Regions from separate parts of the Homo sapiens genome. Here regions 2, 3 and 4 are each linked to region 1. Evidence: promoter capture Hi-C in 16 types of primary human blood cells and fetal thymus (Javierre and others, 2016). All regions are on one chromosome and are shown on one strand. Each heading gives the region's core, a stretch centred on a gene start or on the middle of the fragment in contact. The rest is flanking DNA. Distances are from core to core; before and after follow the strand shown. Region 1 holds the start of RCSD1 (RCSD domain containing 1). Region 2 overlaps POU2F1 (POU class 2 homeobox 1). Region 3 overlaps POU2F1 (POU class 2 homeobox 1). Region 4 holds the start of LOC124900412 (a long non-coding RNA gene).

What was found. The method cuts DNA at HindIII sites, captures the fragments that hold promoters and counts their contacts. A CHiCAGO score of 5 or more calls a contact.
Region 2: a fragment that was not itself captured here is called in contact with the fragment with the promoter of RCSD1 in region 1 in 1 of 17 cell types (total B cells); the score reaches 5.0 in total B cells.
Region 3: a fragment that was not itself captured here is called in contact with the fragment with the promoter of RCSD1 in region 1 in 1 of 17 cell types (neutrophils); the score reaches 5.4 in neutrophils.
Region 4: a contact is called between a fragment that was not itself captured here and the fragment with the promoter of RCSD1 in region 1, in 1 of 17 cell types (neutrophils). The highest score is 5.6, in neutrophils.

Annotation. Positions count from the first base shown.
Region 1 is chr1:167,627,915-167,634,880 of GRCh38, forward strand. RCSD1 (RCSD domain containing 1) reads left to right here and starts at 2,318. Exons shown (of 7, transcript NM_052862.4): 1 at 2,318-2,515. The coding sequence starts at 2,510. RefSeq lists enhancers at 147-206, 287-456, 467-516, 3,035-3,104 and silencers at 2,175-2,254, 2,275-2,494. The HindIII fragment of the contact is 3,174 bases long and covers 741-3,914 here.
Region 2 is chr1:167,324,520-167,332,163 of GRCh38, forward strand. All of the region lies in intron 1 of POU2F1 (POU class 2 homeobox 1), which reads left to right. Among named protein-coding and RNA genes, the nearest start is that of POU2F1, 110 kb to the left of the region's middle. RefSeq lists an enhancer at 3,198-5,290. The HindIII fragment of the contact is 409 bases long and covers 4,408-4,816 here.
Region 3 is chr1:167,258,824-167,265,904 of GRCh38, forward strand. All of the region lies in intron 1 of POU2F1 (POU class 2 homeobox 1), which reads left to right. It overlaps LOC124900412 (a long non-coding RNA gene), which reads left to right. Exons shown (of 2, transcript XR_007066718.1): 2 at 1-7,081. Among named protein-coding and RNA genes, the nearest start is that of POU2F1, 41 kb to the left of the region's middle. RefSeq lists an enhancer at 5,466-5,555. The HindIII fragment of the contact is 879 bases long and covers 3,438-4,316 here.
Region 4 is chr1:167,238,476-167,245,101 of GRCh38, forward strand. The region is part of intron 1 of POU2F1 (POU class 2 homeobox 1); the gene reads left to right. LOC124900412 (a long non-coding RNA gene) reads left to right here and starts at 3,142. Exons shown (of 2, transcript XR_007066718.1): 1 at 3,142-6,626. The HindIII fragment of the contact is 7,155 bases long and covers 1-6,247 here.

The DNA.
Region 1 (6,966 bases), core at 1,068-3,567:
AGAGTTACTGCTATTCTGGCTCCTGGAGATCTTCTGTAGGGACAGAAGAAGAAGATAAGGGGAGTACACACACCACACCTACTCATGGCTGCCTAAACACAGCTCGGGGCTACCTCTTGGTCCCTCCCTCCCCGTTTTCCACCCCCTCCCTCAGGAGAAGTCCCAGTCTGGGGCCCAAATAGCTCTGGAGCAGCATTAAACTCTGCACTGGGGACCCAGGAGCATGGTGGAGGCCAAGCTTGTTTGCTTTGTGGTCATCTGTTCTCAGCCAAGAGAGGCCTAAGCAGGGCGTGGGGAGCAGCTGCAAGTCACCTTGGGTGACTGATGTTATCTAGGCCTAACGGTTTCCTCTGGGTAAGCACTTCCGCCCTCCTGTTTGTGAAGCCAGAAACCTGTGCTGGGGCAGCCCCATTCTGAGCACAAAGGAGGACTAGGTAGAGGGAGAAAGGAAAAGGCCCTGTGGAGCAGAGTTAGAAGACCTGATAGTAGACTATGCAGTCATCACTACGTCCTGCACCTTTAAAAAGAAAGGAAAGAAGCACGAGCAAAAGTGTGCCTTGCAGGTTACCAGTAAATACCCTTCCTTACTGCCGACTCTGCTCTCGAGTCTTCACCTGAGCAGCCATGTGGCTGGACTGGGAGGGGCCTCACTATTAATTCCTGGGAGTGAGGGCTCTTTTCACTGGGTCCCCGAGTGCCTGTCTCTAAATAAAAGAAATATCAGGCTCTTATTCATCTGAAGCTTGTACATGGGGCTAAGCATGATAAAAACAGCCACTTTTTGCAGAGTGCCTACTACATTGTATAGGTGAGGAAAATGAGAATCAGAGCAGTTAAGTGACTTGTCTAAAAAATACAACTAGAAAGTAGCAGAGCTGGAATTCAGCCCTCAATCTGTCTGTTCCTAAAACCAGGCGTCTTCCTCTATGCTTAGCTAAGCTAAAGAACTAGAAGCCACTCTGGCATTAGGGCTGCCAGTGTTTTAGAAAGTTGGGCCTTAGAAAGTTCTAGGACAGGAAGGAGGCCATATTTCTAAGACTGGTACCCAAAGCAGCAATCTAAGTGCCTGAAAGTGCAAAGATGGTGCCGGGATAACCAGAATCAGGGTAGTCTTTGTAGCAGGAGCAGACTCTCAGCCTTTTTTCTCTACTGTTTCTCCACATGTCTCTTCACAGTGCTCACCATCACCTGTCCCATTGCCCACCTCTGATGGGGCTCCCCTCCCCTGGTTGAGCTGGGGTTGGGCGGGTGAGAATGCTGTGGGATAACCCAGAGGCGTCATATACCCAGCCAATACCCTGGCACTCACAGGTCTCTCAAGGCATTTTCCTGTTTCTCTCTGCCGAAGGGTCTGAAGGGGGCCGGGATCCGGGTAGCAGGGAGTGACCCTGGTGCAGATTCCAGTCCCCGAATCCCTCCCATGCGGTCTCTGCTGCCCAGCCGGGATGGCCCTAAAGGAAGGTTGCTATGCTGGGCCCTATGGGAATCAGATGTTGAGCATCTTGCCCTTTGCTATATTTAACAGGAATGGAGACGAGGCCCTTTAGCAAGCAGCTTGTGGGAGCCAAAATTCCCACAAAACCGAATGCATCAGTCAAAGCAAGGTTTGAAGAAAAGATTTACCACTTCAGGGAGCTTGGAAAACTTTGCGTGGATTCCTGATTTTCCTCCTCCTCCTCCTCCTTCTACTCGTATACAGAAGATAGATGGATAGATGGATAGATAGTGGTTTCCTGGAAGGTGGAGAGGAAAAGAGGTGAGAAGGGAAAGGTGGTCCCGTCGGCGCCACGCTGAGCTCTGAAGCCTCGGTCAGAAGGGCTCCTCTTTTGGTAGAACACAAACGCCTTCCACCAGGGAGGGTCCTCGAACTCCACCCAAGAACTGCAGGGAAACCAGGTATGACAGTAATGCAATTTTAAAAAGAGGGAGAGGAAGAAGGAAAGCAGGAAGGATGGACACAAAAGAAGGAAATCGAAAAGAGAGGAAACAAAAAGAATTAAAGGACCACTCTAATTCTTGAAGGGACAGGAAAAAGAAAGAAGGCGCATTAAGGGAGGGAGACGTTGAGAAGGACTGAGACCGTGGCAAAGCCCAGGGTCCTGAGAAACTTCGCGAGACAGAGGGGCCCGGTGGCTGCCCATCCCCATGTTTGGGCACATGGAGTCGTGGCTCCCGCTCTTGAGTCCTGCCCTGGGAGGGACAGTATCTGTTTAGATTTGCGTCTAAATTTAAACCCTGATCGTCGGCCTCCCTCCCCGCTCCCCACCCTCCCCTCCCCTCCCCTTCCTCCCTCCCTCCCTCCTCCTCCTTCCTCGTTCTCTCGCGCAGGGCCCCCGCGGCCGGGGCAGTCCCGCAGCCGAGCGCAGCCGGGCGCGCGCCACCGCCCACTCGCCCTGTGCCCGCCGCAGCCCGAAACTGGCCACGGCCGGGAGCGGAGGGGACAGCGGGGATCGTGAGCTCCGGCCCGGGCGAGCGGGTGCGTCTGCCGCAGAGTCGGCACCTGAAGGACATGGAGGTAAAGGACCCCGGAGGGAGACGCGGGGCTGAGCGGTGAGCGGTGTATCGGGCGCCCCTTCCCCGGGCGGCTGCCCCTGCCCTGAGCATGGAGCACGCGGCTCATCGCTGCTGCCAACTAGAAGGGCAAATGCCTGCTGTTCCGACGCCTCCTTGACCAACTCCGAAGGATCGTCCCTGGTCCCACCTAGGACACCCGGGTTGGGAGGCTGGGGTTGGTAAGGAAAGATCTCAGAGGGAGAGAAAAGGGCTTTCCTAGAGGCCCGGGTATTTTGGCTAGGAACTTAAATGCTAAAAAAAAAAAAAAAAAAAAAAAAAAAAAAAAGTTAGGTGCAGCCAAGGTTTGTAAATGGGTAAACGTGTCAGCAAAAACTGCAAGAAGGCAGAAGCCCTTCAATCTGAAGAGATGGGTATTGAAAGAGAAACAGAACTGGCAACACGAGGCCAGCACGTCTTCGTGGGTCTGTGGGCTTCCCTTTTCGCTTTCGGAGTGGCATTTTAGAGAGTCCAGTTGTCTTCTTGCTTCTGAAGTCCTTCCTGTGTCTGTCGCATCTTCTTCCATAACTTTCTGAAAGCTCCCCTTACTGGTCAGTCGAATGACATTATTTCTGATAAAACTTAAGACTCCCTTGGACACCCTTGCCTCTGAAGCTGTGTGTATGGAGGTATGCTGGCCACATCTGCAGGCTTTGCCAGAGGGAGGCCCCGCACTTCTCTGCCTGCTGAGAGGAGGTCCGGGGACTTTCCTTGTTCTGTTCCAACCTCAGCAGAGGAGTGGTTGGGTGTATTCCCCACATCCCTCTCTTCTGCACATCTTGAGGCTTCCCTGTGTTTCCTCCTTGAAAATGAGACCTGATATGTAGCCCTAAGTCAATCTTAGTAGGACCTGGGGCTTTTGAGAAGATGCAAATGTTATATAGTTTTAAAGGTGATTCCCACTCATATTCAAAAGGAAACATGTGTTGCTCACTAGACTGTGGTCAGTGCAATCAGGATTCACAGTTAACTCCGCTATCTCTTCCCCGCTCCAGGCTCTGTGCCTGGGCCCTGGTGGTCTTTTTATTTTTTTCTTTTGAGACAGGGTCTCATTCTGTTACCCAGGCTGGAGTGCAGTGGCACAATCTCAGCTCACTGCAACCTCTGCCTCCCAGGCTCAAAGGATCCTCCCACCTCAGCCTCCCAAGTGGCTGGGACTACCAGTGTGTACCACCATGCCTGGCTAGTTTTAAAATTTTTTGTAGAGACAAGTTCTCACTATATTACCCATGCTGGTCTTGAACTCCTGGGCTCAAGTGATCCTCTAAGCCTTGGCCTCCCAAAGTGCTGGATTTGCAGGCATGAGCCACACCACTCCTGGCCCTGGTTGTGTTTTCTAAGCTAGACTCTGTGCTTGCCGGCAAAGCTTCATGACTTCTCTAAAGGGGCAATAAGTTTGTCCTTTAGAGAAGTCAGGGAGCTATATTCAGGCATCCAGCCCAGCCAGTTGTCTTCAAGGAACAGGGAATCACCTTCAAGGAGACTTTATAGACTGCAAGAACCACTGGAGTCTAATATGGACCCTCCACAGAAACATTTGCAAGGCCAGGAAGCTCTGGCAGATTAGGGCTGGCGGTGAGGCACGCACACAGCGAAGCTCAGCAGGTGGTGTGCACACATCCACCCAAAGATCACACAAACACAAAACAACAGGGTTCTCTCTGAGCTGGCCACTGCTTCAGGGCAGAGGAGGGAAATGGCCCAGGCAACACCCAGCTTCTTGGGTTGGGTGAAGTCTCCTTAAGAAATTGTTTTAGAAGTGGCTTCCCTCTTCTGGAAGTGTACAAACTGCCTTAGGCCCCAGGCTGCAGATTCACTATGATGTATGGCCTGTCTAACCTCTTGAAGAAAAGGATTGGAGATAAGAGAAAAGCAACTCTTAGACTTCAAGCAGGTTGCTGCTGGAGGGCCAAATGCAAGTGTCAACTTTGTTCTAGGAAAACAAGGAGGGTCTCCTTCCACAGAGGCAGTTTCTCCCCCCTCAGATGAGGAAGGAATAGTGTATGGCAGAGGCCCTGAAACTATCAGCTGAGCAACTTCCTGTGTGGCTTGGGGGGTGGAGGGGATTGCAGTAAAAGAGAAGGCCCTCCCTTATTGAGATGTGTAGTAACTTATGCAGGATTCCACCAAGATACCAAAATCACTCCCGTGCTAGGGTTTGGGAGGGACGCAGGGAGGGAATAGCTCAGCCAGCCAGAAGCCTGACAAATCACCCTGCGTCTCACATCCAGTAGGTCACTAAGCCTAGTCCATCAATTTGCTGGTTGGACAGTGGCTGCTTTTGAAGTTTCTTTGTCCAAATGCCTGGAAAACAAAAAACAACAAAAATGAAACAAACAAACAAAAAAACAACATGCAACTGCTAGTGAAGAAAGTAAAGAGGAAATCTAGGGGCCAGGGAAGTGACCATTCTTAGCCAGGAAGTAAACTTTTCATGGTGAAGCATGATATGCAGGAGTTGGATTTGGGGGTTTCTGAAAATCTCAGAGTAAAACCCTCTTTTGAGAGGTGAAACTCAGTTTTGGGACATGAAAGGGCTACTGTATCTGGAAAGAAATTAAGTTATATTACTTCTCAGTACTAGGAATCCAAACCAGACCAAAGAGGGTTACTCAATATTCATTCTCTAAAGCTCACGTATTATTGGAAGTCTTTGAGAGATCTTTTTTTAAAGTCACTGTTACCATTATCAACAACATCAATCTTCATCCCTCATAAAGCCCTGTGGAATAAACAAAGTATAGATGCCATCTGATCCCTGCCTTTTAAAAGCTCACAACCCAATAAAGGGACTATATCCTGTCACATATATAATCTTCAAATGCATAAATGCCAGTTGAATACTGCTGCAGATCATGAGTTCTGCAGGAGTTCAGACTAGATTAGGTTCAGAAGAAGCCTTGGAAGAAAGATGTGGGTAAGGTGGAGAAGGTATAAGGGATGGGCACAGGGAGAACATGCCAGCTTTGTCCAGCTGGCTGGGAAGGAAGGTAGGAAAGCAGTAACAGAAAAAAATGAAAGTAATAAGATAAATCCAAGGTCACTGAGTATAGTAGATGCCCAGCTAAGTGGGTGAGTGGGAGCTGAAATCCAAGTCACTTGGAGGAAAAGGTTACTTTTTGTTCATACAAAATCTCCTTGCCTAGTTGAGCCTCAAACGGGTGGCTTTTTCTAATTCATGCAGAGGCCATCTGCAACTCTTGAAGGCCAGAGTTGTATGGCCCTGGATTCTGCTCCATGGACAGTAGGAAACTCTGAGAGGTGTTGAGGCAGCTGGCAGCAGTGATGTAGCCGGGATGATACAGCAAAAATGCCACTTCATGGAGTGAGCAAGGGAACCAGGTGAGAAAGCATCTTTTCCAGTACAGGTATATTCTGACTTCAGGATACAATAAGAATGGAGAAGATGGAAAAGAGTAAAGACCATGCGCTGGAAGGGAAGTCAGAAATCACCAAGCTGCCCAGAAGAGTGAAGTTCTCTATGGTGCCAGGGAAAATGGCAGTACCAACTTTTACAGCTCCATACAAAGCCTTTTGCAGGCAGATTTTCTCATTGGTCTTTGAGTCTCCAGAATGAGCACGGTGCCTGGCATATAGTCATATAATTTCTCAATAAAAGTTTGCTTGATAAATGATTAGCATAAATAGGGAACTCCTTCCCCTCTCGGTCTGTAGCTCAAACGTCTCCACCTCTGGAAGGCTTCTGTGAAGCCCCCAGACTCTACAGCACTCTCAGAGCACTTTGTTCAAGCCACTATTAGAACACTAGGCAGAACTGGAACTGTCAGCCTCCCTAACTGTCACCCCGGAAGGCTCCTTGAGGGCAGGGGCCATGTCTTATATATTTAGAGCCTAATGGGCACCAAGAAAGGCTTGTTGCATGAGCAAATATTGAAGAGGGAAGGAAGATCAGGGTTTTTTTTTTTAACAAGCAGTGTTTAGATATGTTGGTTTTGATTGTTCTAAGCAGAATGTCCACCACTCCCTAAGAAATACAAACCTGTTATGATACAAATGTGATTCTCCTCTAGAAGAGATAATAGGTAATGCTATTGTGGATAGGAACCCAGAGGACAGAGGTGTGTAAAGAAGGAGCTGGAGGCGTATGATGTCACATTTAAGTTAATACTGTTAGTCACTTAAATATAAATTGTGTGCACTGCCAATAGCCTGAGGGCACTTGAAAAAAAGTATAATTTTCGCTGACTAAATCCTTTGTTTGTTCAACTAAATTGTAGGCACATCATGGCACTGAAAAAAAGTCATAAATTTCTAACTTAGGTGGAGACAATAAATGAATCCTTTTCTCTGGGGTAACTGCAAATCATTCCCAGATATTATTTGTCATTCATGGACCTACTCAGTATTTATTGGGCCCTTATTACATACCAGATCTTGTATTTTAAATGTTACTTA
Region 2 (7,644 bases), core at 3,362-5,861, 300 kb before region 1:
CTTGTGTTTATGATACTTAGGTTGACCATTTTGTTCAGCCAACCAACTACTGATCTCAGTCTCATGGGATAAGAATTTTTACATATTTTATTTTACTTGTCTTCCTCTCATGCCCTCCATATTGTGCCTGAGTCCCCAACCCCCACCATACCTCGGCTCTCTGTTTAGTAGCTATGTGACCCTAAGGGTCATTAACTAGGCCTCAGTTTACTTTTTATGAAGTAAGATTATCCTTCAGATTGCTTGTTATTTGGCAGTGCTTAATAGCCACGTTGATAAAGTACATGTCTTTCATGGTATCTGCCCATCTAGATTTTTAGTAAATGATAGACATTCCGTTAAGTTATTCTAAAAGATTTTTGGTGGGGGGAGGGGACACTGAGAGCCCCATAATGCAACCTTAGAGGGTATCATTTACATAGTCTGTGATGTAGTTGACAAGAATGGTGGCAGTGCCAATACCTATCACTTGATTCTGAGTCTCAAATTTTCAAGTCCTGGAATGTTGTTTCATATTTGGTGGGCATTAGTAAAATTATTTTAGTTTGTATGTGTGTGATGGGTTTGTTGGACTTTTTTTGTAAATAATTATTGATAATGCTTGAGGTACTAAGTATTTTTATTACAGAGAATTGAAATATCATTAAGTGTTTTCTGTAAGTAAGTTAATAGGACACTAAATTATTGGTAGATTGGAAAAGAGATGAAGGTTGGAAAGGATATTGGTGTACTGTTGAGATTGGCTGGGGTGAAACCAGTGGTGCTAAAAGATGCAGACACCCCCCATGATATAGAAAGGAGGTAACAGGCAATAATTGTTGAGTCAGACATTTCTGCTTGTTCAACTAGTTATATGGTCAGTACAGAATAGAGGGTACAAATGGCTATTCATATAGAACATGACCAGGCTGGATGTTAATGATTTAGTAAGGTAGAATATAGGCCGATCTCAGTTCACTCTCACATAAAAGGTGTGTTTTAAAACACTAGTTTGTGATTTAGTTGTCATTGCCCTCAATTTCATTTCTAATGATACCTACACTGGCCCATAAGATCATGAATATAAAAATATTTTAATACTAGTAGTGTCGGCTGGGCATGGTGGCTCATGCCTGTAATCCCAGCACTTTGGGAGGCCAAGGTGGGCGAATCACGAGGTCAGGAGTTCGAGACCAGCCTGGCCAACATGGTGAAACCCGTCTCTACTAAAAATACAAAAATTAGCCTGACTTGGTGGCAGGCGCCTGTAATCCCAGCTACTTGGGAGGCTGAGGCAGGAGAATCGCTTGAAACTAGAAGGCAGAGGTTGTAGCAAGCTGAGATTGTGCCACTGCACTCCAGCATGGGCAAAAGAGCAAACTCCATCTCAAAAAAAAAAAAAAAACTAGTAGTGTTAACCGTGAATTCTGGGTCCTGGAAGAGCGTTTGTCCCCTCTTTTAGAAAATAAAAAAAGGCTACATTTTAGGCGTAATTGTGAAATACATGAGTTTGAATTTGCCCTTTCAGCTCCTTTTTATACTTCCATATGTTACTACTATTTCCTATTATTACTACCTTCTATGAACCCTTTGCCCACATTACCCCACCCCCAATCCAGGTCCTCTAAACATCAGTTATTTTATCATTTATTGGCCTCTTCTCTAGTAGAAACAACCATTGCCTTACAATCAACTCCTCAACTAGGTGTTAAATGAAAGCAGTGGGATTGGATTAATTCATGCTCAAGTGTGAATGACTGACAATCCCACAAACCTCTCAAAAATGATTTTCCTTTGTACAACGGGTGTTCTTTCTAGGTTAAGTTTTAGTCTAATTGATTCTTTGCTATTATTTCAGACAGATGACCAAGTGAAATGGACATTTGAACTTTGTGGGAAAAGCTGTCATTTTCTTCTTTTGGACATAAATGTGCCATGGTTGGGGAGTACAGGCAAGAGACGGTGACAGTCCCTCTCCCAATCCATCTGTAGAGGCTTGGACAAACTCCTGGTATTTAAACTTCCCCTCTAAAATTAGTAGGGTACCTAGGTCAAGGGTGGTAGAAAGGGACTTTTCTTGCCTTTCCTTCCCACTGTAGCAATGTGAGCTTTTTTTTCTGGGTGAGCTTTGCAGTAGAGGGGAAGCGGGGGGTCCCACTCTAGATAGTAGCCTGTGTGGGCTGGTAAACTATAGCCTCCCTGCTACAGGTCTTGTGGGACTCCCTTAGCCTGAGGAGGAGGCTCTTTCACTAGGAAGGTGCTGCTCCTGTTGGGTACAGACACACTCCTTTGTTAGCAATGATTGTCTGGCTGCAAGTCATCCTTAGCTAATATATGAAAGACCACACTCACAGTAGAAAGGTAGTTTAGAGATGTTATTACATAAAGTAGAAAAGGGCAGATGGTAAGTTGCAGAAATATCCCATAATAAATGCAAATAATAAATTTTAAATTTCGTAAAGGCGGAAGAGGAGGGAAATAAACATTTATTGATATCTACTGTAATCTAGTCACATTCATCATTGCTTTTCATCTTTTCTCACCAAGGAGAATTTGTATAATCCAACATATTCTACCTTAAAAACTCATTTGAAATTTGTGTTCTCTTCTATAATGTATTCTTATTTTAATACAAAGTGGTGTGAAATATTAAATAAGATTGATGCTTTCAAAAGATGGACATGTTTATCCAGTGACTTGATGTCTGCCCTGGCACAACTGCATCACATTCCTCCAGTCCACGCTCTTGTCTGAGAAGCATGAAAGCATTTATCTCACAATAACCTCATGAAAGGGATATCATCATTTTATAGGTGATAAAATTAAGGCTCGAAGAAGGAAGGAACTTAAACAGGTATTACAGGTATTAAATGGCTGTGTTAAGTTTCTCCCCCAAAGTCTCTCCTCATAAGCATTTTGTGATTCAGTAAAACAGAAAAACTGGTAATGCAGAGTGCTGATCCAAAAGTTTAAGGTTTTTGGTCCTCTACTGACTTGCAAGGGAATCTTTTTAAAGGCCCCTTGTTAAAATCTGTCTTTCATTTCCTGAAGACTAGTTCTAAATAAAAACAGTTATTAATGGGCTGACACCTTTCAGAACTCTCCTCAAATCTAGTGCACTCTTCTGTGTATCTGTACACACCTGACTTTTAAACACAATGTCTTTGCTGCCGTTTACTGGTTTCTTCACTACACGGAAAACAAACCATTCAGTCTGCTGCTTTACCACCTCTCAGCAATTCCCTACGTGTTTAACTCATCCATAATGCATAGGAATAGCCAAGAGCACAGATTCTGATATCAGAAAATTCTAGTTTTAAATCCTGATTCCGAATTACTAGTGTGACATTGGATAAAGTGTTTTAGTTCTCTGTGCCTCAGTTTCCTTACTTTAATAATATATAAGGAAAGAAAGGGGTAATAATGCTTATTACTCCATGGAGATTTTATAAATCTCCTGAATTGTCTGTGATGATTAGGCTGTTGTCATTGTAATGCCTAAAAAATTTTGGGTTGATGACTTACCTTGTAAATATACTTTAAATTGAATAAACATATAGTTTAGTAAGGATTATATATATGTATGTATGTTCATTAAGTGAAATATACTTGAGAATACCAAGTAATTCCACAATTTACATGGCCCACCCTTTGACAATAGAGATTCTAAGTAACAAACTGTCTTCTTTCTACTTGAGATTTATTTTCATGGGGGAAGGATACTGCATAATATGTAGCATTCAACTAATCTATTCTGTTAATTTGGTAATATAAAAAGATTTGTAGATAATGAATTTCTATACTCTTTAAGATACTTTATACACCTTGCACTGCTTCTGGGTTTACTGTTGCCTCGTTTTAAAGTGGGACTTTCTCTTGACGGAAGTGTGTTAAGAATTGGAAAATTCCCTATCAGTAGACTAGCACCATCTTGACAGCCTTGTGTTCTGCTTCTACCTTGCTAATTGTTTCCTTGGGATTATTTGGATTGTGTAGAAAGCTTTTTGCAAATCCTCTTATTACTGAAGTCATTGTTGCCAGCAGGAATAAGATTAAAGGTGCTTAAGTCTGTAGGGTTGTTTCTAATTTGTACGTGTCATTTCAGTGGCATTTTAACAGAACTCTGTCTCCTGTACCTCCCTTCTCCCTTGGTACTATCTCCAGTTAGGTCCAAGAAGCCAGGCCATTGGAAGAAGTCTCATTTTATCCTCCTAATTATTATGCTGGCACTCAGGAGATAATTTTTCCCTTCATGCACTGCCAATTAATATGCAAATAGCCTGATAAATATTTATGCAACGATTTAAATTATGCAGGGAGTGCTTTCAGTATATTCTGTAAATGAATTGTTCATGGACTTCAAAGTGCTGGCTGCTGTGCTAACGAGGAGAGATTTGCATAAGGCCCTAATCACGCGCATACTGATTAAGCTTCATTATGGAAACTGCCAGCTGCAATCTTTGTTTCTATTTTATTACAAAAAGAGGAACTTTTTCATGCTTCAGTTGCCTTGACAATGTCAGTCCTAGCTGGTAGGAGAGACTAAAACTCCTCTGAGCAACTGAAGTTTCCTTATTCAGTTGAAGATTGCTATGGTGTAACAGAAGTTGTATTTTGCTTTTCCCCTTAATCCACTTTCCACCCTACGCAACCCCCCTCTTTTCGCTTAAGAACATACTGTAGATTTGTTAGAAATAGTAGTACCTTCTTTCCCCACCCCAAACTGCTACCTGTTTCTTCCTTGTTTGGACTCTCTGCTCCTCTAGAAGATTTCACAGCAATGCTGGACTGCAGTGACTATGTTCTAGGTGGGTACCAGCACAGTTCTTTTCTTAGAAGCTTTAATATGGAAATAGAGTGTGTCGGGTTGACTATGCATAAATGCTTAATCGCATATGCAGCCTGTGGCGGGGGAGGGGGAGAGTTGGACTGAGCAGGGAAGGAGGAAAGCATTTGCAAAGCACAAGCTTACTTGAATTTGCAGTAGGTCCCTCCCTGTGACTAGCTCTTCTGATTCAGAGGGTATCGTTAGTAAATACAGTTAATTTAGAGTTCAGCTCGAATGAATATTTTTGCTTTTTGGAAATTCCTATTGAGAACATTTCATGTAGTTATAAAAACATCTTAAATCTGAAACAAGGCATAGAACTGTACATATATAATATATACATATTAATAAAAATGTTTTTCATACCTAATGAGAACGTCTTATACAAAAACCAAAATGCTCAGTGAAAAATAAGGTTGAGTCACAATGCAGAATAGTTTTTATAAATGTTAATAAAGAGGGTAATTGTACTGGTTGCTGCAACAGATCTGTTGATCGATTTCCAGATTTTAGAAACTATTAACTTTTCAAATTTTTGCTAGGATTAGTCCTCTTTTTAATTTTTTTAAAATCAACTATATACTCTAGATAACTACAACTTTAAATGTTGGAAAACCTTTTTAGAGTTTTCTCTGTAGAACAGCAAGCCTTTTGGAGTGGAAGATGTCCAGCTTAAATTTGTTAAAACCATCTTTGGTGATGAAGATTTCAAATAAATCAAGGCACTTTGATTTTTAGATATATGGTGGCTAATGGTGGTCATATTTTGTGTGGAGTTATGTCTGTTTATATGCAGAATTATTGAGACTTTTTTAGTTACTCTAGTCACCTGGAAAGTTAAATGATATGAACTCCGGGACTTGGATATCTTACATTTAAAACTTTTGCAAATGACTTTTTTCCTATATTGTCATTTTCTGCACTTGAAAATTAAAGCTGCTCCTGTCACCTTCATAGTTGCCAAAGATAAAGTAAAATGATACTTCTGAAAACGTTTGAATTCTTATGCATAAGGCATGGCCTAAACCCAGGGTAGCAGTATCTGCCCAGCACAGTAAAAGCCACTATGTAAAGAGTGAATGACAGAAACAACAAATTTATGTCAGGAATTCAATCTTGTATTTACTCTTTGACATTTACTTAGTTAACAATTCAAAAAAAGGAAAGAAAAATACCTTTTTGGAATATTTTTAACACATCATTTTAGAAGTAGAAATTACATCTCTTACTTTCAGTTAATAGTAAGTATTATTTAAACAGTCTTCCCATTGTGCAATTTTATTTTTGTGTGTATGTGAAGTAATGTTTTATTTTTGTGTGTATGTGAGATAATTTTGTTAAATGCTTTTGAAGCTCTTGACAGTTCAGTAGAAGAATCTGAGATGATTCACTTAAAATACCTGTGACATAGTCTTTATAGATGGGAAAATTAGAATATGAATTGTACAAAGTCAGGCTCATGACTTGTTAAGAATTATGCTTATTTCTGCGGTGCCCACATATGTGAGAAAACTGTTACTCTTTTTATGAATGTTAACTGATTGATCATTTTTTCCACTTTCCTTTAAAATTCATTTAAAGGAAGCATGGAGCAGTATGTATGCTAATGGTATATTCTATTACATTTGTTGTGATCTCTGTTGACTTTCATGAGATTTTGGTTGTCATTCAGAAAGCTGATTTTTCACTAAGTTGTACACCTGTTCCTTTCAAACCTTAGTATGCTTTCAGATGATATTTAAATTTCTCTGGACAGTGAGAAGAAGGAAGTTGTAGAACTGCCCTCATTTATGACCACAAACATATGAATTTTAACCCTTTGAACATTAGAAGACCAAACCAAAGTTATGACAGAACTGCCTAAGCCCATAAGACAAGCATCAGTTACAGAAACTTTTACTGTATTGGAAAAGCTATTACACATCTTCTTGTTGGAAATGAAACTTATAAAAGAAAGACTCCTGATTTTTTTTCTCATCTGTTATGCATGGGGATAATTCGACTGTAAAGAACATGGTTGAGAATTCTGTCTAGTGATTGTTTTGATTTTCTAGTTAGATGTTTAAGCAGATGAAAAAATGTGCTCTTTGGTCAAAAACAGTATAGTTTAAATATTTGTTCTCTGTTAATAACTAAAGTTAAATGGTTCTTAACTTATTTAACCACTAAATAAGTTAATGTGGGTAAAGGCAGAACTTATTTGACAGTAAACTTGTTTGATCATAAATATTCTAAGTTTGAGTTTACAGTAGTAGAATAAGAGATATATTTATGTATATTCCGTTTCTTACCCTTTCAAAGACTTAGAAGAAAAGCAGAGTTCTTGTCTCTTCTCTTAATGTATTTTCTGGGATACCTAATATTGCTTGATGAAAACATTTTACTGTGGAAATAAACCTTCATTAAGTAGATAACCCAGAAATGATAAACTCAAATTAGCAGTTTCATTTAGGATATTGAGGTAGTATTACTTTAAGTGGGTGTGGTTGTAATGCAGTTTTGAAATTATTAGCTATATCTGTTATGCCTTACGGTACAACTTCTTGTGCTGGTTTATAGTTGAGGTATGAATTTAATATGTTCTCACTTTGACTTGTTTAGTTTGGTTGGGGAGGGGAGTAAATTTAGAGATAATTTACCTTAGACGTGTTTTCTTTTAGTTCATAGGTTGAGTTACTGTCCCATCTTTTATCAAGATTACCAGTGGGTTGTTTTGGTTATAATGAATGAATATCATTGCATATAGAAAAAGATACTTTATTTGGGAATAACATTTTATTATGTGAGGTGCTTCCCCCCTTTCCAGTTTTACTTCATGTTAAAAGCATTTATTCCTT
Region 3 (7,081 bases), core at 2,627-5,126, 370 kb before region 1:
AATAGAATTATTTGGGGAGGACAACATTTTGCCTAATTGGGGTCCAAGTTTAGTGTTTCTTATCAAAACTTTTGCAAATGTTCTTCTGCAAAAACTATTCTTGGCTTGTGGACCATATAAAAAGAGGCATCATACCAGATTTTGCGTACAGGCTGTAGTTTGCTAACCCCTGTTTTTATTGCTCATGTGACTGTTGGGTCAGCTAGGTGATTCTGCTGATCTTAACCAGGCTTACTCGTGTATCTATGACCAGCTGCTGTGTTGGCCGAAGTTTGTGTAGGCTAAGATGCTTCAGCAGAGACAGCTTGTTTCTGCTTCACATGGTTTTATCCCGAAGGAGGCTGGCCTTATCTTGTTCACCTGGCAGCTGAGCAGTGTTATAAACGAGGGAGTGGAAGTATATAAGGCCTTTTGAGACTTAGGCTAGTAACATCATTTTTATTGCATTCTATTGGGAGACCATCCCAGATTTGAGGGATGCAGCTCTTGATGGGAGGAGCAGCAAAGGCACACTGCAAAATGGCATGGATACAGGGAAGGGAGTAACTGCAACCAGTTTAGTAAACCATCTACCGCAATTCAGTTTCATGACCGTGTGGTATTTTGTTGAATAAATATGCCACAGTTGATTTAGTCGTTTTTCTTTTGATGGACATTTTGACTGTTTCCAGTTCTTGGCACTTATAAGCAATGCTGCTCAGAATAATCCAGTATATATCTCCCTGTGCGTACATGTTAAGAGTTTTATTAAGGGGGGGTGTGTTTGTGTGTGTAAGATAGAGTGCATGGACAAAATGTACAGTACATATGTAAGCCTAGAAGTGGAATTGTATGTAGGGTGTGCACATCTTTAGCTTTATCAGATACTGCGAGAGTGACTATATCAATTTATATTCTTACTACTAGTGTAGTTCTTATTGCACCACATCTTTGCCAAGATAGTGTAATTTTGCCAGCCTCATTGCACATGAAATGGCATCTCATAAAGGGTATAATTTGTATTTTCTTTATTGTTAATGATATTAAGTATCTTTTCATATGCTTATTGATCATTGCGTTTCTTTTTTTTTTTTGAGACAGAGTCTCGCTCTGTCGCCCAGGCTGGAGTGCAGTGGCGCGATCTCAGCTCACTGCAAGCTTCGCCTTCTGGGTTCACGCGATTCTCCTGCCTCAGCCTCCCGAGTAGCTGGGACTACAGGCACCCGCCACCACGCCCGGCAAATTTTTTGTATTTTTGATAGAGATGGGGTTTCACTGTGTTAGCCAGGATGGTCTCGATCTCCTGACCTCGTGATCCGCCCGCCTCAGCTTCCCAAAGTGCTGGGGTTACAGGCGTAAGCCACTGCACCCGGCTAATTGTGTTTCTTCTATGAATTGCCAGTTAATATATTTTGCTTGTTAAAAAAATCGTTACATCTTTCATTGATTTTTAGGAATTTTTAAATTCTAATTCTTTTTTGCTCGGTTATGTATGTTCTAATATCTTTCCCAGTCTGTGATTCATCTTTGTATTTTTTAATGGACTCCTAATGAAAACAAGTTTTTAATTTTAATACTATTGTATTTATCAGCCTTTTCCTTTATGGTTTGTACTTTTTATGTGTTATTAAAGAAAGCTGTCTCTTCCAGATCTTCAGATTCTCGTATGTTTTCTTAACGTTTGCTTTTTTACCTTTTGATCCTTAGTCTACCTGGAGTTGATTTTTGTGTATGGTATGAGATGAGGATCTAATTGTTTAAGTATATGGATTTCTAATTCTCTCAACATGATTTGTTGAATTTTTCCCTCTTTCCTCAGCTTTCCTGCATTGCCAAAGCTCTGTCATACAGAGTTTCCACATATACACATGTTCTACATTTCTTTTGACGCTAATTTCCTGTATAGGAAAGTTGTTCGGTTTTCACTTTTGAAGCTGGCACTTTTTGTTTACTACTATGTTATTGCCTGAGTAGTCTTGACTGAACTGTGCCCTTAATTACTTTGGATAAGAGTAGGTAGCAGTTTTTGGGTTGCTCACTATATGCTAGATTAGTATACTTAAAATTTTAGTGCATTTAATGCACTAAAATTTTAATGCATTAGCTCTTCATGACAGTAGTATGAATTAACTATATTTTTTTGTTCCTTTTAGAAATTAGTAAACTGAAGCCCAGAGGAAACTTAATACTTAGCTAGGATTATGAACCCATGCCAGCTAGCTTCAGGGTCTCAACTTTAAACCACTATTTTATAGTATTTCTCATTTGATTTATAAATGTCTTGTCTGATTTGAAACATTTGAATAGGAGAGTGGTTCCCAGTCAACCATAACATATCTAAAATTTGTCTGATTACTGATGTTTAAAGAGGTAATTGTTAAAATGAGTCAAGCAAGCGCTATAAGGACTAGTTACAGTTTATTTTTAGAATTTTATTAGGTTTTTTTAAATGGTCACCTTTGAGATCTGCCCCTCTCCCCTGCCACTCATGAAAGGAAAGATGCAGAAAATGATTCTTTATTTTGGAAAACTATTTTTGTGTTTTTAGATGTCTGGATTTTTCATGTGTGCACTAGCAGAGGATTCTTGCATAAGATAATGGGGCCAGTGAGCATGAACGGTTGTAGGTTGGAGATGTGGTCCTCTGCATGGGTTATTTTTCTTTTTAAGAGCAAGATATAGGGATAGATATAGCTGTTGGCACAGTCTAGGGGAACACATTGTTTTAGATAATCTTGCCTCTTCCTGCCCTCTAGCCAAGCTTCTGATAAGCATTTTGCATTGAGGATGACCAACTTTGATCTCTCCACTCAATTTCCCATGGCACTTGTTATCTGTACCAGCTCTTTGGAAATTCATATTCAATTTAGGATTTGATTTTGTTTTTTGTTTTTTAAGACAGAGTCTTGCTCTGTTGCCCAGGCTGGAGTGCAGTGGCACAATCTTGGCTTGGCTCACTGTAACCTTCGCTTCCCAGGTTCAAACGATTCTCATACCTCAGCCTCTTGAGTAGCTGGGATTACAGGCACGTGCCATCATGCCTGGCTAATTTTTGTATTTTCAGTAGAGATGAGGTTTCACCATGTTGCCCAGGCCAGTCTGGAACTCCTGACTTCAAGTGATCCGCCTGCCTCAGCCTCCCAAAGTGCTGGGATTACAGGCATGAGCCACTGTGCCCAGCCTTGATTATGTTTGATAACACTTTTGTATTTTTCTGATTGCTTTGAAAATATGTTTCGTGTACCTAAGAATAGAACCTTAGGAACCTTCTTGGGACAGGGATGGTGTTTTATACTTATTTTTAATCATCTCTACAGTCTTAGCACAGCAGCTAATTACAGTGCAGGTGTTCAATAAATGTTGCTTTTTTTGAGATGGGGTCTCACTATATTGTCCAGGCTGAGGTGCCATGGCTACTCACAGGTGCAGTCATGGCATATTGCAGCCTCAGGCTCCTAAGCTTAAGTGATCCTCCCACCTCAGCCTCCCAAGTAGCTGGACTAGGGGTGCCCACCACTGTGTCTGGTGCTTCTTTCTTTTAGTGTGGCTTAACTAATGAGACCCCAGAGATAAGGGCAAATTTTATATTTGATTTAAAATTGTTGAGTGTTTTATTCAACACTAATTTATTCAGTGTACTTTGTTCAGCGAATTGCGGGAAACACAAGATGAATCAGAAACCGTATCTGCCCTCAAAGGGACTAAGTTCTTAAACAGTTTAAGTTATAAATATAGTTGCTTGCTTCTGTGTACATACGTACCCTCTTAGTTTCACAGAGGGAGCTAGAAGTTGTTTATAATTTAATTGAGGAGATCAAACATATGAAGAAAAATCATTCAATGTAGAATGTGGTGAGTCACAAAGCCCCTGGGGATGGATTTTGTACTTGAGGTGGGTTGAAGAAAGATGCTTAGAGTGGCAGTAACAAGGGAGCTGGGCCCTCAATAAAGAAGGTAGGATTTTGACAGGTGGGTTAAGGATGGAGGGTGGGGTTGCATTTAAGAAAGAAAAAAACAGTGTGAAGCAAGGTCTGGTAGAGGCAGAAAAAGCTGGCCATGTTTGGAGCAAAAGTAGTTCAATTTGGCTAGAATATAGGAGAGAAAAGTACATAAATTGGGGCCAGTTTATGTAGAGTCTTAAATATCAGGCTAAGGTGTTTGGACTTAATTCAGTAGACAGTGGGGAGCCACTGAAGTGTTTTGAGTAATATGATCTGAGCCATACTTTTGGAAGATTAATCTGGTTGCATTGTCAGTAATGAATGAGAAAATGAAAGTGTTTTCCATTGTTGGAACACTTTTTTGTTTTCTTTATAAACATAACTAAAACAAATGTAAGCTTAGTGTAGCTATCAAATAACACTAAAAACCTTTATTAATGAAAATGTAAGAAAAGATATGTTTTTGTATATCCAGCTATTTTAAAAAACATGTCGGCCGAGTGTGGTGGCTCATGCCTGTAATCCCAGCACTTTGGGAGGCCGAGGCGAGTGGATCACCTGAGGTCAGGAGTTTGAGATCAGCCTGACCAATATGATGAAACCCTGTTTCTACTAAAAATGCAAAAATTAGCCGGGCGTGGTAGCATATGCCTGTAATCCCAGCTACTCAGGGGGTTGAGACAGAATTGCTTGAACCCGGGAGGCAGAGGTTGCAGTGCGCCAAGATCGGGCCATTGCACTCCAGCCTGGGCAACAAGAGCGAAACTCCGACTCAAAAAAAAAAAAGGCCCTATTCACCTGTTGGCTTCTAATTCAGATTTTTGCATTTAGCCTCTTCAGTGAGTTATGTACCACAGATAGATATAAACTTCCAAAAACACAGTTCCGATTGGTATATTTTACTACTCAAAGCCTTCAGTATCTCTCCATTTGGCTGCTGAATAAAGTCCAGATTTCATACCCCAACAGTCAAGGCCCTCCCTCATTCATCTCTCCTACTACTCTACTCTCTGGCTGTTTCAGACAAACTATTCTTAAGACTCCTTGTGATTTCCTACTTCTTTGTCTCATTTACTCTAGTTCTTGTGACCTTCATAGAGTCTTAAGAATAAAAGGGAGGGAAGATATGTTGAAATCTTGAGAACACCTGTGAGTAGGTCATATGTGGCAGAGCTGGGATGAAAGCTCTTCTATTACTTGTTATTTTTTGTAATTGCTATGTGCCAGGTATTGTGGCCAATCCTGGGTTATGATGGTAAGTGAAACAAAAGTGATCTCTGCTCTTTATACCTTATGGTCTATAGAGACAAATATTAACCACTATATATAGTAAACCAATGTTGCAATTACAAACTTGGATGGGTCCTATCAAGGAAAAGTACTTTGAGGTACTTTAAGAGAAGATAATGGGCAAAGGGAGTACAGCTAATTTATAGTGGTATGTCAGGAAAGGTCTCTTTAAGGAAGTGTTTTTTTTTTTCTTTTTTCATGCTGCCCCATGTGATTAAGAGGAAATGAATTTTAAGCTGAGAACTGACATATGAGAGCATGTAGGTAGGGCAAAGAGTGGAGAAGGGCATTCTAAGCAGAGTGAGCAGTATGCACCAAGGCCCCCAAGTGGAAAGGAATTTGGGGTATTAGATGACCTCAAAGGTCAGTGTGGCCAGAACATATTTTGATTACTGAGGAGTAAGATGAACCTGGAGAGTTAAGGAGGAACCAGATCATATAGAGCCTTTTAGACCATATTGGATTTTGTATTTTATATAAAGTACATTGAAAAGAAAATGGCAATTGAAGGGCTTTTGAAGAGTGACACAGTCCAGTTTGTGTTTTTAAAATATCACTGTGATTAATAATATATCCAAAATTCAGCCACTTCTTATCTCCACAGTCTCCACCCTGGTATAAATCTCATTTGAATTAGCTAGTCTCAGCTTCCACCCTTCCAGCCCTACAGCTATTCTTTTTTTATCTTTTTTCTTAAGAAATTTTTTTAAAAAAATTTATCATGGCCCAGGCACTCACACCAACAGCCTATTCTAGACAGTTACCAGTTTTTTTCCTTTAAAATGTTAGAGCATGTCTCTCCTGCTCCAGATCTTCCCACGGTTTCCCATTTTACTCGGAGTAAATCTCCGAGACATGCTCCCACCTCAGGGCCTTTACACTTGCTGTCTCGTTTGCCTAGGATGCTTTTCTCACAGATACCCATGTAGTTCACTTCCTAACCTCCTTCAGGTCTTTATACAACTGGTGAATCCATACCAGACCCCATCCCTGCCAGTCCTTCCCTACTTTATTTTTCTCTGACTTTCATACTAGAATGTAAATTTCACTGGATAAAGAATTTTGTAAGAGAGTCCTGTACTGATCTATTCTCAGGATGTGTAATGCTGTATATAACAGGCATTCAGTAAGTATTAGTTGAATGAGTAGCTTGGTGGAGTCTAGAGTAGCAGCTGAGAGAACAGTTTAAAGGGTCTGAGTCTAGATGAGAGATGGTGGCTGAGACAAAGATTGTGGAAGATGCAGAGAAGCAGGGGATTCAAGATACATTTTAGAGATAGAATTAACAGGACAGTTCACAATGATAAGATAACTTAAGTTTTTGCCTCACAAGTTTAGCGTTTCTTCTATTAAACCATTATGAAATGTCATTGTTAGCTAGTAATTTAAGTTAGTAATTAGGTTATTCAGAGTCATTGATTTAGCCTGTGTCTAAAACCAAGCAATGTAGATGGCTGCCAAATTCACTAATGGCAGCAGCATGTGGTGAAGGTTAAAGAAGATTTGATAACTCTTTTAGGTATTTAAAATATTTGTATATTTTTAAAAATCAAACTTATGAGACAGTGCATGCAGTAGTGAAATGTATATATATAGCTCATTTGAGGAGTACTCTTAGGGTTGTGGTTCTCAAATAGGGACAGTCTCTTGCCGTACCCTCCCCCACCCCCCAACATTTGGCAATGACTGGAGACATTTTTGATTGTCACAACCTGAAGAATGGTGCTCATGGCATCTAGTGATTAGAGGCCAGTTATGCTGCTAAACATCCTGCAATGCACAAAGTCAGTCTCCTCCCCTCTCTGCAAAGAATTATCTGGTCCAAAATGTCAGTAGTACTTAGGTTGAGAAACCCTACCTTAGGTATTAAA
Region 4 (6,626 bases), core at 1,420-3,919, 390 kb before region 1:
GACCCTATGTAATGTAATAAACAGTGCCCTCAACAGTCTTCCTACTGTGGACACACCAACAAATTTCAGAATGCCCCTGTATAGGCCAAATGCATCATACCAGAGCACCTTCATTAAGGCAGTTAATTGGTGGGAGATGAGGATATTGAGTGAGGACTATTCAAAATGGTCTGACTTAAAAAGGGAAAAGATTTTGGAATAATTAGAAGAATGGAGATACTGCATATTCTTTAGGCAATCTTCCATAAATACCTGTTTTGTTCACAGTTAGTACAAGGTTACTGGCATAGGGTAGGTTATCAAGAAATGTTTTCAGAGTAAATACTGGGTTGCATTGGGTTTGAAATTACATTTGTTGGTGCACATCATTGAAGGTAGAGTGATAAGATTTTCATGTTGTTCAGGGAGACTAGTTGGCTACTCAGATGGGTGGCTAGAGTGTACTTTGCCCTAAACAGTGCAGGGCACATCCTGAAAAGTTTTGTTCTCTAGGCTCCCCTTTCCTATTCTGAATCCAGGCACACACTCTAAAAATCTTTAACCTTTAATCTTTTCTCCACCATTCTTTTTTGTGTATGGTGTAAGGTGTAACCCTGACAAACTTTTTTTCCCCCCCAAATGGACAGCCAACTGTCCTAACACTACCTATCCCTTCTACCAAAAATGTCAGTTTCAGTCATTCAGTCATTTAACCTAGTGTTCTTTTTCTGACATACGTAGTGTTCTTTTTGTGACATACCATTTGTCAACTGACAGAAAAAGAACACTAGATTAAATAGTCTACTTTAAAAGTATTTTTAAATAAGGAGATATAGTTTAAATTTCGAATATCTGTGAATCTTCACTCCCCATATCTTTTTTGCCATGCTATCAAGACATAGTTAACTCCTAGTTATAATAAATACAGTGCTTATCTGGTATAGATGCCACTGCTTTACAAGAGTAAAAGAACATATGTAAAAGTGCTGTCCATGGGCAGCAGTTCAAGGGGTAATTTTAATTCGTACCACAGGTATACATACACATTGTAAACTGCTTTAGTGGCTTAATGGTTGTATTTTGACATTGTAGTCAAATTTGATACTCCCACCCCAACCCTCACTTTTATGCTCATTCTAGCAAGTGCTGGGAATGCTAAAAGCAGAATACATAGCCCCTTGAAGAACAATATACTTAAAAAGTGATCACCTTAATACAGACATGAAAGTTTCCTCTCAGCATTAAGCTAGAGTTTAGGTGCTTGGAATGATTGAAATTGATTTTTTAGGTAGAAGGGCCAGATGGTGTTGGGACAGTTGGCCGGCCATCCATTTGAAAAACACAAAAAATGTATGTCGTCAGGGTTATACTTTACACCGTACACAAAAAAGAATGGTGGAGAGATTAAAGATTAGACTGTTCAAAGAAAAACTCAGAAAAATACTAAGACAAAAATACAAATAATTTTTATTTAGTTTTGGGGATGGAAAGGCTTTTTTTTTTTTCTTTAAGCTATGAATAGGACTTTATGGAAAGGCTTTTTTGACATGACACACAACTCAAATGCCATAAAAGGAAAAGATGGATAGATTTAACTATATAAAATATTTATGGTTCTGCCTTCTGAAAGACTCTACAAATAAAATTAACATAATATATGGTAGAAAAGTATTAGCCTGTATGGAACATAGAGGGATAATTTTTCTTACTATATCAAGTTCTCTTAGACATTAGTAGTACATAACAAATACCCCAGTAGTCGAAGTGTATGAATAGTCAATTCATGTAGAATAAGGGCTGTGAAGATATGAACCCTGACTAGAAGCCTCTGCTGTAAAGACAGAACCTTCTTTAAGTCCGATATAAAACAAAAGGATGAAGAATTACAAAATGTATGCTTTGGTAGGGCAGTGAAGAAATTAAAATATTAGAAAAAAGAGTAAGAGTTGAATACTGGCCATTGTTTTAGAGGTAATTGAGGAAGCGTATTTTATATACTCGTGGGTAATTTTACTACTTTAAAGGTGGAAAAAATATTTAAAATAATGAAATAAATAGAGAAGGGATTCCTGCTGTTCCTGATTTAACACACAGGACAACAGATAAATGATTATGAGCTTATACTTAGCCTAAGTTTGTGTGGAAACTGTTAGTTTCTTCCAAGATAAGTGTTTCCTAGATAACTGAAAATCTACTATTGTTTTAATTCACTTTTTCTTGTGCTTCTGCATAAACATATTTAATATATGCCTTTGGTGTCCCAATGAAGTTCACCTTTTACAGTTGGTTTGAAGCCCTTCCCTAGAGGTTTGCCAACGTTATTTCTATGTGGAAATCCATTCAGAACCCAGCTTCTGAAACCTTTGCTTTGGGGACACCTTGTTCTGTAATGAAATTATCTGAAAAGGCCGGGCGCGGTGGCTCATGCCTGTAATCCCAGCACATTGGGAGGCCTAGGTGGGCGGATTACCTGAGGTTGGGAGTTCGAGACTAGCCTGACCAACATGGAGAGACCCCGTCTCTGCTAAAAATACAAAATTAGCCTGATGTGGTGGTGCGTGCCTGTAATCCCAGCTACTCGGGAGGCTGAGGCGGGAGAATCACTTGAACCCGGGAGGCGGAGGTTGCCGTGAGCCAAGATCGCACCATTGCACTCCAGCCTGGGCAACAAGAGTGAAACGCCATCTAAAAATAAATAAATAAATAAATAAATAGTCTGAAAAAGTTCTCACCCAGGAGATAACTCTCCTCTCCTATTTTACACATCTCCCTTTGATTTGCCAGTGTAAAGCAATAACCTTAGCAGAATGATGTCTTCTGTCATAATCTATTTGTCTTCATAAGGGCATGACTCAAAGAGGTCTGTAGAATCTGTTTTTTAGTGCCGGGTGAAATAACTAAATATTTCGTTTTAAAAGGAAGGAATTAATCAGGAACCTTTTATGATTCTAGCTACTACTGGGCTGTAAACAGTGATGCCAGCAAAATGTTACTTCAGCTGATGAAGTGATGCTGTTTCGAGAATTTGAAAGCAATTTTTCAGTGGATAAAGAAGTTGACAGCACGATTTGTTGGATGTGATGAAGGATTAATGAGCATACACCTTCACTTGTATTAGCTTAAGATGGAATGGTTCTGGGCAATATAAAATAACAGGTTTTCCAGTTTATTTTTATTACTGTACTTGCTTGTTTATAATATTAGGCATATTAATTAACACCTATGAAGCCCATTTGGTATGCTAAGCACTGTTCTAATGTTTTACATGAATTGTCTCGTTTAATCTTCATGTCAACACTTATGTAGGCATCATTGTTATGTGTTTTATAGGTGTAGAAAACTGAGGTACAACGAAGTTAGGTAATTTCAAAAAGTTAACATAACTGGAAAGTGGTAGTGTTAAAAATAATTTGAGGGTTTTGATTCCAGTTTTCATGCTAACTTTAGTTGACTAAAGGAAGGATACATTGTCTAATTTAATCACAAACGCAGCTATGTGAGGAAGGATTTTTAGAGTTCTCAGAGCCTAAGTTTTCTTAAGTGCCTAAAAAAATGCCTTGGTTAAGGAAGATATTTATGGTAGAAATGCTTTGTTATTGCCAATTGCTTTTATCAGGATTTTGGACCTAAGTTACCTGTTAGGTGCTAAAATATTTTTAAAGATGATGAAGCATCCAAGTGCTGCTTGTTCATTTACACTTTTATTAAGTAATTGTGAACATTAATTATGGTTTAACTAAGAAGCACCAATATTAATACTTTTGGTTTTCAGAGTTTCAAAGCCGCAATTTTGAGTTGTTCGGCCTGTTTAGTGACAGTCAAAAAATAAATGCCATGCACGAGAATTTCAGCACTATGAGCAGTGATAGAAGAGAACCAAGAAGAAGTGTATACCTTTGGAAAATGTGTTTCCTGTTATAGACACATAGAAGGACCTGTTGCCCTTGATGATTCTGCAAAGCTATAAAAGCTGGTACTTGAAAAACATGGTGTAAGAAACCCAAATCACAGAAAGACTCTAAGACCAGCTTTCTTACCATGGTGACGCATTGAAGCACTAAGTGTTTGAGCACATCTCACAGGATGATCTAGCTATAGAATTGACAAGATTTTGCCCTAAGATAGTTGAGAGAAGCAAATGTATGCTTTCTTCCATGGCATAATTTTACCTATTTACCTTTTATGTGAAATTAGCCCGAATCAGGAGTCACAGCTTAACCTGTTTATATGGGTGAAACTTTCCATATTGTGAGATGTTGTTTTTACTAGCAAAGTAACAAGAAATGAAGAACCTTCCAGAGTTTGTAACTTACTGCCTTGCTATGAAAATGATACTTCAGATACAGTGATGTGTTTATAATGTCTCCTTTTGCGTAGGATAAATGCTGTATCTGTATATGTATGGGCAAAATTCAGAAAACTATTAATCATACACAATGTATACAGACATACGTATATTCTCATTCTCCCTCTCTCCCTCCCCCTCCTTCCACCTGCCTCTCTCCCCCGCTTTCTTTCTTATTTCCTTTGTTTCCCAAAATGAATTCTACCTTTATTAACTCAGTTGAATTTTCAGCAAGTGTCTACTAATTGAGACAGAATCTACTGTTCTTCAGTGCCGCTACTTAACTATATGCTCATCTCTTTCTACTCATATCTCTGTTTTATATTTTTACTTGGGACGTTATTGCATGGTAATTAAGAATACTGGCCTAGGAATCTGACCGGTTAATGTTTCAATAACTGACCAGTAGCTTGATTCCTTCAACAAATATTTCAGTGCTTATTGTATTAGGCATTGTTTTAGGCACTTAAGAAAATCTAGGCTCTGAGAAGTTAACTGTAAAAGCCCTTCCTCATGTAGCTGTGTTTAGGATTAAGTGAGATAATGTATATAATTGCTGAGCACGTTGGAATCTGTCGATTTATGTAAACTATTTCTTATTATCTTCAAACCTTTTAATGACTTGGAACTCTCAAAGTGAAAAAGTAAGTATGAACAGGTATAAATTTATTTTTTTAATTTTTATTTTTTTTTGAGACGGAGTCTCGCTCTTGTCGCCCAGTCTGGAGTGCAGTGGCGTGATCTTGGCTCACTGCAACCTCTGCCTCCCAGGTTCAAGAGATTCTTCTGCCTCAGCCTCCCGAGTAGCTGGGATTACAGGCTTGCGCCACCATGCCTGGCTAATTTTTGTATTTTTATTAGAGATGGGGTTTTGCCATGTTGGCTAGGCTGGTCTCGAACTCCCAACCCCAGATGATCCACCCGCCTCGGCCTCCCAAAGTGCTGGGATTACAGGCTTGAGCCATCACACCCGGCCTAAACTCTTTTCTTGAATTAAGTTTCAGGATTGACAGCCTTCATTATAACATGTCCCATGTAATTAGCATCATGACCACTATCACAAACATACTGATAAATATAGTACAGGACCCAGATTTCAGCACCTGTTACATAGAGCCATTTGTTTTTTTCCCCTCTTATCCGTAGCTGCCCTCCACAAATATGGATAATGGACCGAGAGTAGACTGTGCTGTGTCTGCCCATACTCTGAATCATATTGCCAATCTCCTACTCATCCTGCCTCTTGAGAATCCTGAGCACAGGACACCTGAGATAGCAAAAGGTCCTTCCTGTAGTAAAAGGCTTACAGAGTCAAATGGCTGGAGCGGTGTGAGAATATGGACTCAGGAACTTTGGAATTGGGAGTACATTTTAGATTAGAAGATAGCATGTAAAGGAAGAAGGAGAGAATTTTTGTGGGTCAGGCATCTGGGCATGGCTCAGGTGGGTCCTCACAAGGTTGCAATTAAGATATTGGTCAGAGCTACAGCCTCATCTGAAGGTTCAACTGGGGAAGCATATGCTGCCAAGCTCACTCACACAGTTGTTGACTGGACTCAGTTCCTTACTGGTGGTCGAACCGAGGACCCTGGTTTCTTCCTGGCAGTTGGCCAGAGGCTGTTCTCCATTCCTTGCCATGTGGACTTCTCTGGCTTGCTTCAGAGCAAGCACATGAGAAGAGCCAGATAGTGTTCCAGCTGGAAAGGAGTATTAGCAAGACAGAGTCACAGCTTTTGTAACCTAATTGCAGAAGTGACATCTCATCCCTTTTTCAGTATTCTGTTTATTAGAAGCAAGTCACTTGGTCCACCCCACACTCAAGGGGAAGGGGCTACACAAGGGTACAAATAGCAGGAGTTCATGAATCATTGGATGGCCATCTTACAAATCCACCTATCACCTACCTACTGAAAGCCTTCAGTAAGCTTTAAGAGCATACAGGAGCCCTGACACCCAAAAATTAGAGAACTGCTGATCTAAATGTATGTTACATTGGTGGAACATGTATGGGAGATATAATACCTTCCTTAAAAAGTTCTTCTCTAGGATAAGATCTTGGGCCTTGGAAGCCTGTATATGGGGAGTGCAGGTAAAATCAGGAAAGCCTCCCCTTTTTGTCAACTTCAGTTTCTGGAGAGAGGGATCTTAATACTACATAGCTGTCTTCTAACATCTTTTAGGAAGTAACACAACTATGACAGGAACAGTAGTGAATGTTAGAAAAAATAAAAGGTCTGAGAGAGGAGAATAGGAGCATATTCTTGCAAAGCAGAAATAAAACTTTTTAAAAAAATCCGTGCCC